Regions from separate parts of the Homo sapiens genome. Here region 2 is linked to region 1. The links are contacts of gene promoters, found by promoter capture Hi-C in human tissues and cell types (Jung and others, 2019). All regions are on one chromosome and are shown on one strand. Each heading gives the region's core, a stretch centred on a gene start or on the middle of the fragment in contact. The rest is flanking DNA. Distances are from core to core; before and after follow the strand shown. Region 1 holds the start of EXT1 (exostosin glycosyltransferase 1). Region 2 overlaps EXT1 (exostosin glycosyltransferase 1).

Region 1 (5,280 bases), core at 132-2,631:
GGCCAAGTGCCGGAATATAAATTAAAAATTAAATGATTCCTACCATTGTTCCACAAGTGGAGACTCTGCACTTTGGATCTCAAATTGTGCACATACTGAGGTGACAACTGGTCTCTGTCTAAAGTATCCAGACTCAGGACAAAGAGGCACGCCTGGCTGGGGTCCGAGGTGTAGAACCTGGAGCCCTCGATGGCCGCTAGAATGTTTTGGTAACTTTCGGCGATTTTCTCCCCTTTTTGCTGTGGGTATACGTAGACTTTGAAGCCGTTTTTCTTGCAAAGGGTGAAATCGAAGCAGGACTCCATGCGGCACTTCTTGCCTTTGTAGATGCTGGAGTTGGCATCTCGCTTCTGCCGGGGGGAAATGTGCACGCTGGAATCCTCGTTTTCCAATTGATCCCAAGGAACGAAGGGGCGCAGAGCGTCCGGGAAGCGGGGCCAGAAATGATCCGGACTGGGGTGGTGCAAGCCATTCCTACCGCTGTGTTCTTCTCTCCGGCTGTGGCTCCTCGATGCCCTAAACTGCAAGCCTCCGAAATAAAACAAAAGGGCGAGACAAGAGCCAGCTGAGAGCAGGATGAAATAGCGTTTTTTGGCCTGCATGTGTCCTGCCTGGGTCAAGAGGATTGTAAATAAACACAAGAATCACCCAAGTTTCCCAATCAACACTTTCAGCTCCAGTCCGCCATCTTCCCGCCTGTAAAGACTTCAAACTCTCCGCTCCCACCTTCTCTGGATGCCTTTCCCCAAGCCGTGGACTGATCCAGCGCATGTGGGCGATTTCTTTAACTTTCTCCCCTTCGGTCTTTCATCTTTGGGTTGCACAATGCACGGGAGAGAGCGGGGCTGAATATCTCGCACCCAGGGCGGGCGAGCAGCGGACTGTAATTTTCTTGCATGCAACAAGACGGAGGAAAAGAAAGAGAGAGGGGAGAAAAAAAAAGCTCCCGATACCCAATCAATGGCAAGACGAAGTGATTGCCTTGCCTCTCGGATTCCTCTCGGCAGCGTGGAAAATGAGCCCCGGGAAGGCAACTTCAACTCATCCACCACTCTCCGTGCAGAGCACTCCGGTTCCAACAAGTCAGCCGATCCCGGGTTCAGCCGGCTAGTGCATCTTGCAGCTGGGGCGCCGTAACCTCACAAATCCCTGCATCTCTCTTTATTCCCTTCTGCAGCGGCTCCAAGACTCCGGCGGTGTTTACTCCTGCGCTCGCGGGGCCGGCCCCCGGGACGCGCGGCGGCCCGGCTGGAGGCGGCGGCGGCGGCGGCGCTGGGTGGCGGCGGCGGCGCGTCCTCCCCGCGGGCAGTGCCGGCCCCGAGCAGCGCTTCGCAGGCCCCCGCGCGAACGCTGCCGACCGCCGCGTTCGGTCGCCGAATGTTACCCGGTTCTGAATGTTACACTTACACATTCCATTCCCGACACGACAGCGCTGACCTCATCCATCCACGCAGCCCGCGCTGCCATTGGCCGAGCGTCACGTCCGGGGGGGGCGGTGCTTCCGCTGCGCCCATTCATAACCCCCGGCCGCGGGCCGAGGCGCCGGCGCGGCGTTGGGGGCGTAGGGGGCGCAGGGAGCCGGGGCTCCCGGGTTGCAAGCTGCCGGCGGGCTGCCGGGCAGGTGGAGCGCGGGACGGCCCGGTGCGAGCCCCGCGGCCCCTCGGCGCGCCCAGGCCCGGATCTCGGCCTGCGCCGTGCCGGGGACCAGAGGCGCCTGCGGAAACGCGGCGGCCGGGGAAGGAGGCACCGGCAGGGGCCCCGTGCCGCGCGGCCCCGGGCGCCCTGGAGAATCTGGCCTCCTGGGCTGCCTGCCGGAACGCCTAGAGAAAGATGCTTTGAAGGAGGGAAGCAGGGAGGAAAGGAAGACTTCATAGAAAGCGACCGCCGATCCGAAAGCTGCCTCTCCCAGCCCTCCTTCCACTCTCCGAGACCCAGTATTTCAATTTTCTGCTAAGCATTAAAACAATCTCCCCTTACTCCTCCTCTACATAGCACATTTTTTTAAACCAAAGAAACACCCCAATGCCCAACAATAAAGAGGAATTATTACAATCAAGAGGAATTGTTGCAATTCTTCATGCCTGCCTCTGTGCTAAGAGTGTAAGACGGCTATCCTAAATCCTCATTATCTACTTAGGCCGCCTTGCCTGAGCCCCCTCTGTCTATTATGAAGAAAGCTTCCAAGAGATCCAATCACAGAGAAAAAATAAATTTTCTAATGGCTGCAGGGAAACCAGTTAATTTAAGCTTGCCCCAGTCCTCAAAGTGATGTTATTCTCTTGGTGGTGGTGGTGGTGGTGGTGGTGTTAAAGATATCTCTTAAGGACATATGACTGGTAGAATTGCCAACTGTCCCAGCTATAGAAGGAACACTTGCATCAGGAAAACTACCTTATGTACAATTAGTGCCAAATAGTTGGTCCTTCCCTCACTGACCTCCCACTCCTTGGCCCAAGCTCCTGCCACTCCCAGTGGAAGAACTTCATTAGATAACTCAGGTAACCGAGGAGCAGTCCCGCTAAAGATCCTCCAGGTCCACAAAGATGTGCTAGGCTCCCAAACAGTATCTCTGGTCAAAGTCAAACTCCCTGGCCTCAGATCCTGAACACTGCTTTACAGAAAACACCTCCCACCCTCTGGCCTAGCTAAAGTCTCAGGGCTCGGGCAAGCTAGACAGTTGCCTAGGGCAGCCGGCTGTTTAGTGATTGTTTATTATGGGAGTGACTGAGAGCTAGGAGCAGACACTTCCCGGCTTCCCTCAGGCTGCAAAAACCCCAGCGGGGTGTGGATGAAGGGCAGGGTTATAACAAGGCAGTATGAAATGATAGAGTGGAAAGTTTCAGACCTCTGTTGTTTCAGATTTGTTTTAATAAAGCAGGGAAGGGGCATGGGTGGGACATTACTATACATTCGTGAAGCCTCTCCCTATTTCTGACCTGCCAAAGATGAGACAGCTTTTCCAGATTTGACTTGAACCCCCTGCACAATGTAGAGAGGCCTGGGACAGGAATAAGGATTCAGTCATCTTCCAAATACAGTGACAATGATGCAGATAAAGGCAGTGATTGAAACCACATGTGACCCAAAGCTCCCCCCAGCCCAAGTTGCTAAGAACAACAGTTCAAGGCAGGAGGCCTTCTCTTCTGATCAGGGTGCAGATTATCTCAGCCCTGTGAAGTGGGGCTGTGGGACTGGAGGTGCTCTCTCTCTCTCTCTCTCTCTCTCTCTCTCTCTCTCTCTCTCTCTCTCTCTATATATATATATATATATATATATATATATATGCTGGAGTGCAGTGGCAGGATCTCGGCTCACTAGAAACTCTGCCTCCCAGATTCAAGTGATTTGCCTCCCTCAGCCTCCGGAGTAGCTGGGATTACAGGTGTGCACCACCAGCCCTGGCTAATTTTTGTTTATTTTTGGTAGAGATGGGGTTTTGCTGTATTGGCAAGGCTGGTCTCGAACTCCTGACCTCAAGTGATCTGCCCACCTTGGCCTCCCAAAGTGCTGGGATTACAGCATGAGCCACCTCGCCTGGCCCCTCTATATCTTGCCAGTTGTTTTGCATGACCTTAGGGGGAGCTAGCTACCCTCCTTGCTCTTTTGTGTTCTGTTTATGTTTTGGCATGTGCTTCCTGCTTTTCTTGCCTAATTATGGCTAATTTCCTTATCCCAGACCCCAGTGTTACCCATCTCTACTTGTACATCCCAAAGTGTTGTGTACTGTCAGAAAAACTTTGGTGCTGACAATTAGAGAAAACTTGAATTCAGACCCCAGATCTGCCATTTACTAGTACCTTGGGCATGTGGCTTAATTTCAGTGGACCTCCAGTTTCTCGTTTGAAAAGTCAGGATAATAATATCTTTCTTGCCAGCAGTTTTTTTTTTCTTTCTTTTCTTTTTAACAGAGTCTTGCTCTATTACCCAGGCTGGAATGTGCAGCAGTGTGGTCTCAGCTTACTACAACCTCCACCTCCCGGGTTCAAGTGATTATCCTGCCTCAGTCTCCCGAATTGCTGGGATTACAGGCAACCGCCACCATACCCGGCTAATTTTTGTATTTTTAGTAGAGATGGGGTTTTGCCATGTTGGCCATGGCTGGTCTCGAACTCCTGACCTCATGTGATCCGTCTGCCTCAGCTTCCCAAAGTGCTAGGATTATAGGCGTGAGCCGCCGTGCCTGGCCTCAATTTGTAAACTGTAAATTGCTCTACATGTGTAACACCATTAGCCTAAGTTCCACTTTTCAAACTCCAACTGTAATCTTAAAAGTAGCCCCTACAATGGTATCATCATTTTGTCTCCTCTGTTTTATTTTTTCCTAACCCTTATTAGCTGAAATCTCCTCTGTTCGTTTGCTTGTTAACTTTTCACAGTAAGGAAGCCCCTGAGAGGAGGAGCACTGTTTGTCCTACTCACTCCTTTATCCCAAATGCCAAGGGCAGTACCTGGCACTTAAGTGAAGCTCAATCACTGATTCAAATGAATGAATGACTTAGTAAAATTCAGCTTCATCACAGCACTTGTACAAACTCGAAAAGAAAGAGCTCATAAGTACAGGCAACAAAAGCAAAAATAAACAAGTGAAATACATCAAACTAACAATCTTCTGCACAGTCAGTAAAGGAAACAATCAACAAATGAAAAGGCAGCCAACAGAAGGAAAGGAAATATTTGCAAACCAAATGCTGATATGGGGTTAATATCCAAAATATACAAAGAACTCACACAACTCAATAGCAAAAAAAAAAAAAAAAAGCAAAGGACCTAAATAAACATTTTTCAAAAAAGACATTCAAATGGCCAATGGGTATATAAAAATGTGTTCAACATCGTTAATTATCAGGGAAATACACATTAAAACCACAGTGAGATACTACCTCATACCTATTAGAATGGCTGTAATCAGAAAGACAAAAGATAACAATGGGGCAACATGAAGAAAACAGAACCCTTGCACACTGTTGGTGGGACTGTAAATTCATATGGCCATTGTAGAAAATGATAGGGAAATTCTCAAAAATTTAAAAGTGTAATTACCATATATCATCTAGCAATCTTACTTCTGGGTATATATCCAAAGGAAATGAAATCAACATGTCAAAAAGATATCTGCATTCCCGTGTTCACTACAGTGTTATTCACGATAACCAATACGTGGCAACAACCCAAATGTCTGTTGATTGATGAATGAATAAAGACAATGTGGTACATATATGCAATGGAATATTATTCAGCCATAAGAAGCAGGAAATCCTACCAGTTGCGACAACAGGGATG
Region 2 (5,902 bases), core at 3,174-5,673, 320 kb before region 1:
TCTTTGGGGAGCAGCCAAAATAGCCTCCAAGTCTCCTTCTTTATAGCTTAACATTTTTTTCTGCTCTAAGATGGGATGCTACGATCCTGTCTGATTAAAGACACATTTTAGGCCTGTTTTACCAGCATATTTGGTCAAGGAAACCAAGTTATTTGCAGTTTAGTTTGGAACAGAAATTCAAACTTGGCAAATAATTTGCATATTGACAGAAGCATGTTTTCTTTCTTTATAAAATGTATGTCACCAAGAAAGAAACAATAATTGGCACCTAAACTTCATTTCAGTACTGAGCTACCTCAATTACATTCCACTAAGTAGAATGAAAAACAGGCCATCCCTCAAAGGCAGACAAAAAAAAAAAATTGTGACTTAGCACAATTTCTGCTGATGGATTTCTGATTCCTGAATGTTATGACGATTTCATGTTAAGAGGCATTAAAACATGATTATAATTGAAAACAAGAGGGCCTGTGACACTAGAGGGACCACGGTTTAATTTGGATTAGTATTAAGGTCCTGAACATTAAACTAAGAATATTTCCTCTTCAACAGGTTAAAATAAACTATTTTGGCAAAATATTAACTATTACTAATGGGTAAAAACTACATATTGCTTGTACCAGGTGCTATTTTAAGAACTTTACATTTATTAACTCATTTAATCCTCAGGAGAACTCTATAAAGTATAGACTACTACTTACCTGAAAAAACTGAGGCACAGAGAGATCAGGTAATTTCAATGAGGTCACAAAACTGTGAAGACAAAGAGTCAAGATTCGATCCCAGGTGGTTGGGCTCCAAAGACTGTAATTTTAACCTGTAAACTTGGACAGTTTCATCTGCATGAGGCCAAAAGCTAATAAAAACCTTGAATCCACTCTAGTAGGTGAGTACCTCCACTGTATCCTCTAAAGCATGTTTCAGCCTAGAGGAGTACCCAACCTAGTCTAATTTCTCCCCCAATATTTTGAGTTCCTGCATACCACAGAGGCTGCACAAAGTCAGGGGAGGCTAACGTAGGATGACGCAGGCATCTACACATAACTTGTCATTTTCTCATCTCATGAGTGGACTCAGTGGAAATGCTCAGACCATAAATCAACACCATCTGTAATTGAGGTTTGCTCAAGGTATCTTTGCATGCTATAGCATTCATTGAAATATCTGTGAGGTAGGTTAGAACCAAATTTAACAGTTACTTCTCCAACTAGCCTTCTCATTTGTTCTCCAACTTGGGAATGATTCTATCATTAGACACACCCTGGGGCCAGATTTTACAAGTGGCACTATCATAACAGTGTGCCAGCTTAGGACCTGAGTTCACCACATTCCTTTCTGAGCCTACTCTGATGATTTGCCTTGGACTGGCCTTGTCCAAGCTCACCTTGACATCTGCCTTGTTCAGTGCTCAGTAGGCAGTTGTTGTTTAGAAAGTCTTTGTAAGTAACTATTTTAAAGTCACCATTTTACAGATGGACAAAGTGAAATACAGAACACAAAATGTGATTGATGTCATAAAGCAAATCAATGCTCCCAAATGCAATTTGCCATTCGCTCTCCTGTAAATATGTGAAATTGGTGACTTAATGTTCTTACTGTAAAAATGCCCAAAGAAAGAGAATAGAAGAAGAGTAACAGAGTTGGGGGAGAGCTACCACTGGAATGGAAGGAGCGAGGGAGGAAAATAGGAAAGGAGGAAGGAGTATTGCGAGAACATAAAACCTTACTACAGTGGCCCTGAATCATGGAGCTGCAACACACCTGGAGCACTTATAAATTCTTTTGAGAAATGCCAGTGTGACATACGCCTCGCAAGCCAGCAATTCATGAACTCGATGCAGTAGTTGAAACCAAAGGGGTAATGGCCACAGCTGTCAGGATCCAGATGCTCTGGGGCTCGGCCCTGCCACTTTGTCCCAGCATTCATGCGAAGGAATGCTGTGAACTGGGCATATCACCACTGTTCACCCTGGCCTGCTTCCAACAGCACCGGCTGCATCTGGCCTGGAAGATGGCCATGGCTGGCGGCCCTATGTTCCCCATAAGGTTGGGCACTGGGCTGCAGCCAGGCTGCGAGTGCTGGACCTACATCCAGCACACTCTCCGTCCAACCTCATCTGCCTGTCTACCCCAGAACCCCCAAGGAAGCTTGGCCTTTCCTGGCACACAGAATCCTCCTGAGAACTGGCGTCTTTCTGCAGTCAACAGAAAAGATGGAATGAAAACCACACAGATGAAAAGTCATGTCATTTATTAATAATTTCTTTTTTTTTTCTTCTATAAATTGGAAGGAAAAAGTCTTTGGTGACACTCTCTATAAAACAATCTATCTTGGATGGCGAAACCCAGACATAAAGTTACACAGGTCAGTGAAGTAAATCAATATCTATGGCTTTGTATTTTCTCACACGCGCTCTCTCACACATACTTGAGGGCTTAATTACGCTAAGTCATTAATACTCTATAACAAATGGGAAAAACACTTCAGAAAAGACCTGTGGTGACACTACAAAAACATTGGCAACATATTAGAAAACTCTGTCCCAAGTGTACATCGTATACAAAATAAGGTATACTTTTGTTTTTTGCGTTACAATTTGCCACCTAAAATAGTTCCAGTTTTTGATGTCTTTCTTTCTGCCCCTCAACATATCCTATACATATTGTTCTCTCAAAATAAGTACACAAGGTTCATTACATGGTAACCAGGTCATTTGCATAGCCCTAGTTTTAGTAATAGTTACAACCGAAAGGACAGGGATGTATTCCTGTAGGAGAAGAACAGAAAACTATTGCAGAAATCAAATGGCCTGAGGCCTAAAAGGCAAATCATTACAAAACCAGAGTGACTGAAAGGCTAGCCTGACTTGATTTTAAACAAGGGTGAGACTGTGCTATCCTGAGGGCTCAGCTTTCTCAAGGTTTGCCTTCTTCTCCTAGTTGCTGGGCCATGTTAAGTTCCAATTCTGGGTAGCTCACTGAGGTTCCTGATATAAAATGTATTGGAACTCTAGACCAGTGACAACTACAATCCCTACTAGGTAAAACTCATGGAGACAAAAGCCTTTGATTTTTGGAAAGGGCAAAAAGGGGAGAGATGGTTTTGAGGAGTCAAATCCATCATCACAATTATGGTGTAAATAACAGCTTTTTTATCCAGAGGTTCTGTACAGCATTATTGAACTGATGGGAGAGACCACTATCTTAGGGTACTTAATCCCCCAAGCTTTTTTTTTTTTTTAAAGAAAAAAAAAAGGGGGGCCAGGCGCAGTGGCTTACACCTGTAATCTCAGCACTTTGGGAGGCAGAGGCAGGTGGATCACCTGAGGTCAGGAGTTTGAGACCAGCCTGGCCAACATAGCAAAACCCTGTCTCTAATAAATATACAAAAATTAGCCCAGTGTGGTAGCACATGCCTGTAATCCCAACTACTAAGCAGGGTGAGGCAGGAGAATTGCTTGAACCGGGGAGGCGGAGGTTGCAGTGACTGAGCTGAGATCACACCAATGCATTCCAGCCTGGGTGACAGGGCAAGACTCTGTCTCAAAGAAAAAAAAAAGACTTGGTGTCAAAGGATAAACTAATCTCTTTATGCTGAAGTTCTTATACCAAGTGAGACAAGTTTAGCACAGTTTGATATTAATGCTTATTTGCTGAGAACTCAACTCAAAACAACTTTGTCCCTGTAAGCATGCCTGAGAAAATGAGGCTGATAGTGAAAGAAATTTCTTGGTTAAATCTGGCCAAGAATGACAAAACCAACTGAAAGGTTCTTGTCCATAGTCGCTGTAAAGGGGAACTAGGTAAATGAATTCAGCAACTGCGGTCCTGATGTACTGGCTGCATGTTGATTATATTCACAAGTAAGAGGCAGGAGCATTTTTATTTGAGAGTTCATGGCAATAACTGCTACTTTTAAATACTGGAGATCTCAAGAGACCCAAGGGAACACAAGACACTTCCAGGTCTGGGAAGTTTGCTTGGCTTTTGCATCCATAATTCAGCCTTGTCCAGCAAGAATCTCATTCAGATTCCAACCTAGTAAGGCTGTCTTCCCCCTGATCCTGCCCTTTAAACAGGTTTGTTCTTAAATCAAGTGCCCTGTTTTTTTTTTTTTTAATTAAAAAAAATAGTATATAGGCCTATTCACATTCATTCATCTCACCCCTGATTAAAGTTCAGTAACCTTTATGAAAGGCCACCAGCATAATACTCTTTCAAGTCACCAGGTATTTGAGAACCACCAAAATAAAGGCTAACATAGCCTACTGTAATGAAAACCAAAAGTCATTCTAAAAGGGAAATTGAAGGATGCAACCGGATTGATCCTTCTTTGAGCACCATTTGTCACAAGAAGAAATTAAACTGTAATGCACATAAGATTCCAGTAACAAGCTTTCCCTTTTTTTTTGAAGCATCTATCTGAAAGTGTGTTGATACGACCAGGTAGGCCCACCTAGCTATGCTATCTTTTGTGGTATGACTATCGTGATTATTTCATGGATTTTTCTCTACAGTCTCAATTTTGAGCCATTTTGCTAGCTTCAACAAAGGTGATATGTATTAATGTATTTGTAAGCTTTGATATTTATAACACTTTCATATAAATAAATACACAGCCAGCTTTTAAAAAATTACTTTTAAGATCCTGTGTCTTAATGTGGAGCTGGGAAAAGATGCTGTGTGGAAATCCATAAGTGGCTGAGTCCTCTTTGGAATTTCTGCAAGCAATTCATTACGTGGTTGGCACTGTACTCTCAGCCCTTGGCTTCTCTCCAATGCAGCACATGTTAGCCCACTTAGGGACCCCTAGTTATCATTAAAGTTGACCAGGAGATAATTCCTGACACCCTACAGAGATGGCTATGATTTGTCAACTTGTTGCAATGCAATACAACTCTTTCCTAACTGAATTAAAATTACATATTACTGTCGAGCTTCACTGATTTGTTAAGCATTGTTCTATTCCCAGCCTTATATTCCAAATGGGAGAAGAACACGCTAGCTCACATCCCAAAGAGATTTGCTCAGAGAATGACATAAAATGAAACTGTGGAGATTTAAAGTGGATGAAAGGTGTGTTATATCCTGTTCTTATTTATAATTACCATTTTTCTTCACATAACACATGTTGTTTGTGGAGGATATGTGTTGTGAGCTTGGTGACAGGTCAATCTGGCAAAGCAGGTCCTTGAATCCACTTGTGTGACTGACTGGTACAATTAGGGACATTGCTTTGCAAGCCAATATGACCACCTAAGTTTCAAGTTGGTTTTGGGGTCATTGAACAAAATATCGCATTTATTTTTTGGTAAAGGAGAAACAAGAATAATTTGCCAATCCTGAAAAAAATAATTTAAATACAAATTCACAAAGGCCAAATGAATAAAGATTAACTGCTAATCTTTTAACTTGCTGAGAAGTGCAGCTTAAATGACATGAAACCTGTAAGACCAAACATTTTATAGAAAAGACACAAGTGCAAGCACCATGGACCTAAGAATTATTTTTCAACAAATGCCTAAGAGATAATCACATCTACTTAGGGGAAAATGTCACATGTTTGAGAATGGACTATGGATGGGTCCAATTAGATGAGAGAGGTATTTAGGGAGCTGTTCTGAGTCATGAGGCTGAGGAGAAAATCCTCTCTTTAATTGAATTTCACTGTCTACGCACCTCTCAAAACACCATCTGGATATGTGGGCTCTACTCCTTGTTCTGCAGCTAGGTAGCCTGTTGAGTCACTTCTCTGGACTTCCACAAACACTTTCACTCCTGTTTACAGCACCATCCCCGTGCTATCATTACAAGCTCCTCTTCCTCTCCCAGATGTCTACAAAGAAAGGATGAGGTAAAGTCCAATGGACTTACGGTTTCCACTGACCTAAGATGGCCACTT

The links. The method cuts DNA at HindIII sites, captures the fragments that hold promoters and counts their contacts. A contact is called where the count stands out against the background at its distance.
Region 2: a contact is called between a fragment that was not itself captured here and the fragment with the promoter of EXT1 in region 1, in 1 of the 25 tissues and cell types used here (aorta).

Annotation. Positions count from the first base shown.
Region 1 is chr8:118,110,445-118,115,724 of GRCh38, forward strand. It overlaps EXT1 (exostosin glycosyltransferase 1), which reads right to left and starts at 1,382. Exons shown (of 11, transcript NM_000127.3): 1 at 1-1,382. The coding sequence starts at 602. RefSeq lists silencers at 1,235-1,324, 1,425-1,804. The HindIII fragment of the contact is 7,998 bases long and covers 1-4,486 here.
Region 2 is chr8:117,792,256-117,798,157 of GRCh38, forward strand. EXT1 (exostosin glycosyltransferase 1) reads right to left here. Exons shown (of 11, transcript NM_000127.3): 11 at 2,235-5,902. Among named protein-coding and RNA genes, the nearest start is that of SNORD168, 130 kb to the right of the region's middle. The HindIII fragment of the contact is 3,473 bases long and covers 2,688-5,902 here.